Linked DNA regions of Homo sapiens: region 1 is linked to region 2. The links are contacts of gene promoters, found by promoter capture Hi-C in human tissues and cell types (Jung and others, 2019). All regions are on one chromosome and are shown on one strand. Each heading gives the region's core, a stretch centred on a gene start or on the middle of the fragment in contact. The rest is flanking DNA. Distances are from core to core; before and after follow the strand shown.

Region 1 (2,700 bases), core at 60-2,559, 59 kb before region 2:
GGAAAGAAATATATTTGAGATGATTAATTTTAGAACAAAAACTGACACTAAGCCTTTGAAAGGCGAATAAAGAGGCCATAAAACAATGACGGCTTGCATAAGTCATACCTCTCCAATCTTGACAGGTGTTCCTATCAGGGTAGGAATGCAGGGAAGGGGACAGCGGTCCCGACATTCTGGATGAGAGACCACACGACAGTCTCGACACTTCAGAGATAATTTGCCAAATTTTATCCGCTTTCCACATGGAACACAGGATTCAGGTTTAATAACCTGGGATAAAACAGGGCAGAAGGAACAGAGTGATATGAATTAGAAAATTATCATCATAATCAACTAACTTTTTTTTTTTTTTTTTTTTGAGACCGAATCTCACTCTCTCGCCTGGGCTGGAGTGCAGTGGTGTGATTTCAGCTCACTGCAACCTCTGCCTCCCAGGTTCAAGCGATTCTCCTGTCTCAGCCTCCCGAGTAACTGGGATTACAGGTGCCCACCACTACGCCCAGCTAATTTTTCGTATTTTTAGTAGAGACAGGGTTTCACCATGTTGGCCAGGCTGGTCTCGAACTCCTGACCTTGTGATTCACCCACCTCGACCTCCCAAAGTGCTGGGATTACAGGCGTGAGCCACTGGGCCTGGCCTTTTTTTGTCTTTTTTTGAGACAGAGTTTCGCTCTTGTTGCCCAGGCTGGAGTGCAATGGCGTGGTAGAGGTTGGCTCACTGCAACCTCCACCTCCCGGGTTCAAGCGATTCTCCTGCCTCAGCCTCCCAAGTAGCTGGGATTACAGGCATGCGCCACCACGCCCGGCTAATTTTTATATTGTTAGTAGAGACGGGGTTTCTCCATGTTGGTCAGGCTGGTCTCGAACTCCCGACCTCAGGTGATCTGCCTGCGTCAGTCTCCCTAAGTGCTGGGATTACAGGCGTGAGCCACTGTGCCCAGCCATAATCAACTAACATTTATTGAGCACTTAGTATGTGCCAAAAAATTTTCTAAGCCCTTTAGACATATTTACATATGTAATTCTCACAGTAATCCCATAAAATAGGTTTTGTTTTCTTCATTTTAAGATGAGGAAACAGAAGCAAAGAGAGTTTAAGTAACTTGTTTAAGGTCATCCCACTGGAAGGCAGCAGTGTGTGATAGTGGAAAGAACTTGTTTACAAAGAGCAGAAAACTTGGATGTTGGCAGGGCATGGTGGCTCACGCCTGTAATCCCAGCACTTTGGGAGGCTGAGGCGGGAGGATCACCTGAGGTCAGTAGTTTGAGACCAGCCTGGCCAACATGGTGAAACCCCATCTCTACTAAAAGTACAAAAAATTGGCCGGGCATGGTGGTGGGCACCTGTAATCCCAGCTACTCGGGAGGCTGAGGCAGGAGGATTGCTTGAACCCGGGAGGCAGAGGTTGCAGTGAGCCGAAATCGCACCACTGCACTCCAGCCTGGGCAACAGAGTGAGACTCTGTCTCAAGAAAAAAAAAGAAAAAAAGAAAACCTGGATGTGAAATCTGTCACTTACTATCATGTGGCTCAAAAATGTCAGTTAACTCCTCTGAGCCTCAGTTAATTTGCTTGGATTTTTATAAGGAAATAAAATGGTACAAAAGCAAAACATTTTGAAAATCTTAGGTGATATATTCAAGAAAAAATGTAAACATGTGTCACTAAAAAGTACTAACAATGGGCCAGGCACAGTAGCTCATGCCTGTAATCCCAGGACTTTGGGAGCTGAGGCAGGGGGAGCACTTGAGCCCAGGAGTTCAGGACCAGCCTGAGCAACATAGCAAGACCAAGTCTCTACAAAAAATTTAAAAATTAGCCGGGCGTGGTGGCACACATCTGTATCCCTACTACTCAGGAGGCTGAGGCAGGAGGATTGCTTGAGACTGGGAGGTTAAGGCTACAGTGAGCTATGATTACACCCCTGCACTCCAGCCTGGGTGACAGAGTAAGACTCTGTCTCAAATTAAAAAAAAAAAAGTACTAACAATTGCTTCAGAAAAGTTGGTCTCTTTAATTTAGTATTACTCACAGAATGGAAAGAAACTTACCTCTGTAACCAATAGTTACTTCTGGAGAGTAAAATTGGAATGAGGAAGGAAATTTGACATTTAACTTTATAACACTAAAGTATTTAACTTTATTCCTGGTATTTATTACTTTCACAATTAAAAAATTAAAACACAAACAACAATCACAGATTTACCGTCTTAGAAACAAAGTCATGCAGGCGCATCCCTCCATTACTCTGTGGCGTGCCCACACTGTCTGTCTCAGTTCTTGGCTCCAGCTGCCTGCTGTTCAGGGTGGAGTCACTGTTCCAAGGTTGTAAAGTACCTAGAAAACAAGCAACTTTTAAGCTTTGTGTCTTAAGTATTTTGCTCCTTCTAAATTTTAGCTCCAATTTTAACTGGGAGATAAACAGTAATCTGTTATCATAGCCAAAAGTGAGAACTAATGGCTATGTAAAAAAACAGTTTCAAGAAAAACTAAAGTTATGCCAGTGGGCTAGCAATTCAAAGGTAAAGCATGACACAAGCAGTTCTCTGGTCCTCGGTATGCAGCAGTAAGAAACTACCCAATACATCCAATCCCCGCCTCCAGAGGGTTCTAAGAAACCAACTCTCCAAAATTTTGCTAGTTGTTTTACACAGGCCAGTTTAGTCACAAATTCAATGGACCTGTTTTCCTTCGGCT
Region 2 (2,700 bases), core at 133-2,632:
TGAACAGCTCCCCAAGACCTGAATGGAAGATCCTCCCTTCCTTTTGGCAGCTCCGTGTCCAGTCCCCTAGTAAATGGATCTCGACCTCCCTCCTCCACAATCTTAAGTCCACTCTCCCACTAGGGACCTCCAGACCCCTTCTCTGGTTTCCTAGATGTCCACTACTCCCAACTTCTCATCCAACTTCTTTCCAATGTGCCATCCCCTTCTCGTTACAGGTTTTCTTCTAACTTAAAGCCCGGCACCATGTCCTAGGAATACACCTCTCACCATCCTTCTCCCCGAGCCGCACCAGCCTGCAAGTAGAGCGAAGGAGCCACTAGAGACAGAACTCTGGTCCCCCGCACCCTCCTCCTCATCATCTGACACCATCAGACCTCAACAGCCTCTGTGCTAAGAGCCCCTAATGAGCATCAGCAAATTAACAACTTCCCCTTGATTGCTCCTTCTCTGTTAATTGGATAGGGAGGGCCCCCCTCCCCAAGGCCTCTCAGAGAAGAGGAGGGAGGCAGGGAAGGAGAAAGGTGAGAGCCACAGGAGCAGCCCCCAGGCCTGCGTTCTGTGCTGAGACTTCTGCTCCATCCCTGAGCATAGCTCCCCGTTCCAACCCTTCCTCACCCTGTCCCCTTCACTCCCTTTGCCTCCTTCCTTCTGTCCAAATTCCCTTGACCTCTGGCTATTTTTCCTTCCTTTTCTCTGCTCCTTCTTTGGAGATTTGGCAGTAAGGGGTTGCGACCATGCCCCCCACAAGCCCAAAGCTACAAGGATGGGATCTGAGTGGTCAAGGCTGCGTGTTGGCTCACATATGTGCACGTGTATATGTGTCACATGCAGGTGGGAGCAGGGATAAGAGCAGGTGAGTGCTTGCCATGTGGGTCAGGCCCCCGGGATACGTGGACATCTGTTGCGGGGGGGTGTGGTTGTGAATGGTGTGGTGTGACTCTGGTCGGTATGTGTGTCTGTCTCCATATGGGCTAAGTGCTTGAATTAGTCAAGTGTGACTCGGAGCGTGTGTGTGTATGTGTGTGTGTACGCGCGTGTGTGCCACCAGAGGAAGCAGCAGCAAGAGGCAGGAGCATCGATCCGAAGGAGACAGCGCGGGGAGAGGGACGCTAGGGGCAGACACCCTCCCTCCTGCGCGCACACACGCGCGCGCGCACACACACCACACACAGAGTCATACACACAAGCCATAGGGCCTCGCAGGCAGGGAGACGGCTCCGGGACTGGAGAGAGGCAGCGCCGCCGAAAGCGGCCGCGAGGAGGGGCGAGGCGGCGCGGGGAGCCCTGGGTCCCGCTCCCGGATCCGGGGCCCCGCGCGCACACCAGCCCAGAGACAGCCTCGCAGACACTCGTAGGCGCGCACGCGCACCCTCTCCCCTCCCCCTCCCCTCCCGCCGCCTCCCGGCCGGACGATGGATCCCTGCAGATCCCAGGGCTGAGAGCACCGCGCACCGCGCCGAGCCCGGGCAGACCGAGCCGAGGCGAGCGAGCCAGCGAGCCAGCGCGCGCGGGCGGGCGGACAGATCGGAGCCGAGCGGGGCCGGGCGGGGCGCTCCCTGCAGGGCTCTGCGCGGCGTGCCGCGGCGGCCGCGGGCTCCGGCCCCGGGCCATGAGCCCCTCCGCGACTCGGCGCTGAGCCCGCCACCGGTCCAGCGCCCCAGGACCCGCCGCCGGCTGCCGGCTTGCCGAAGCCCCCTCAGGTGGGTTTCCGATACCCCTGCCTTTGGCCGCGAGGCTCCTCGGTACCCCGAAGCCGGGACTCTCCTCCCTCTGGATTTCCCTTGCTGCTGGGGCGGCTCGGTGGCTGGGGAGGGGGGCGGGGGCCGAGCTGGGGATCTGACTGCGACGAGAAGCTGGACTGGGGGGGGCTGCGTCCGGGGCGGGGACAGCTCGCTGTCATAGGGAACCGCGCCCCCCCTCCATACATCCACCTCGGGCAGCCCGCCACCCCCCACTCCCAACATACACACAGCCTGCGCTTATGTGAGAACTGGAGACACCCGCAGGTGAGGACTCAGGCTGGGCCCCTCCCTAGATGTAGCCACCTCCCTGGGGGTTTTCTGGCCCCAGTTTAGCCCTTAGGACCACAGCCCCGTCCAGGGAATACCCGTGACCAGGACAGGAGCTCCTTACCCCGGGGTCAGCCCATCTGGGTGAGTTTTCATCTCCAGGATGGGGTGGATATTCTTGTCCCAGAGTGACCCCACATCTGGAGGGAACTCCTGCGCCTGCCTATGGGTGCATCAGGACTTCCCCCTCAACCTCGGATGACTATATCTGGGGTCTCCCCGGGCCTGGGAAGCTTCTCTGGGGAGCATTCTCTTGGCCTGACCTGACCCCCTGTGCCTCTGTATTTGGAGGAACCCTGGATGTGTCCCTTGGTCAGCCACCTCTGGGCTTGCAAAGCAGGGAAGTCTTCTGCCCGAGGAGTGGTGACCTCTGGAGATGAGGATTCTGGATGGGCACATGTGGAGGGGCTCCATGTGTACTTTCATCCCAGGACAATGATAGACTGTCCCTCCCTCCTCCCCCAGGATCCCCTCAACAAGGATGGAACTGAAGGCCGAGGAGGAGGAGGTGGGTGGCGTCCAGCCGGTGAGCATCCAGGCCTTCGCCAGCAGCTCCACACTGCACGGCCTGGCCCACATCTTCTCCTACGAGCGGCTGTCTCTGAAGCGGGCACTGTGGGCCCTGTGC

What was found. The method cuts DNA at HindIII sites, captures the fragments that hold promoters and counts their contacts. A contact is called where the count stands out against the background at its distance.
Region 1: a fragment that was not itself captured here is called in contact with the fragment with the promoter of ASIC1 in region 2 in 1 of the 25 tissues and cell types used here (neural progenitor cells).

The regions. Positions count from the first base shown.
Region 1 is chr12:49,996,932-49,999,631 of GRCh38, forward strand. It overlaps RACGAP1 (Rac GTPase activating protein 1), which reads right to left. Exons shown (of 17, transcript NM_001319999.2): 8 at 2,685-2,700; 9 at 2,210-2,340; 10 at 109-273. Among named protein-coding and RNA genes, the nearest start is that of AQP6, 25 kb to the left of the region's middle. The HindIII fragment of the contact is 4,436 bases long and covers 1-2,700 here.
Region 2 is chr12:50,056,214-50,058,913 of GRCh38, forward strand. ASIC1 (acid sensing ion channel subunit 1) reads left to right here and starts at 1,383. Exons shown (of 12, transcript NM_001095.4): 1 at 1,383-1,703; 2 at 2,538-2,700. The coding sequence starts at 2,554. RefSeq lists silencers at 1,186-1,345, 1,416-1,585. The HindIII fragment of the contact is 14,217 bases long and covers 1-2,700 here.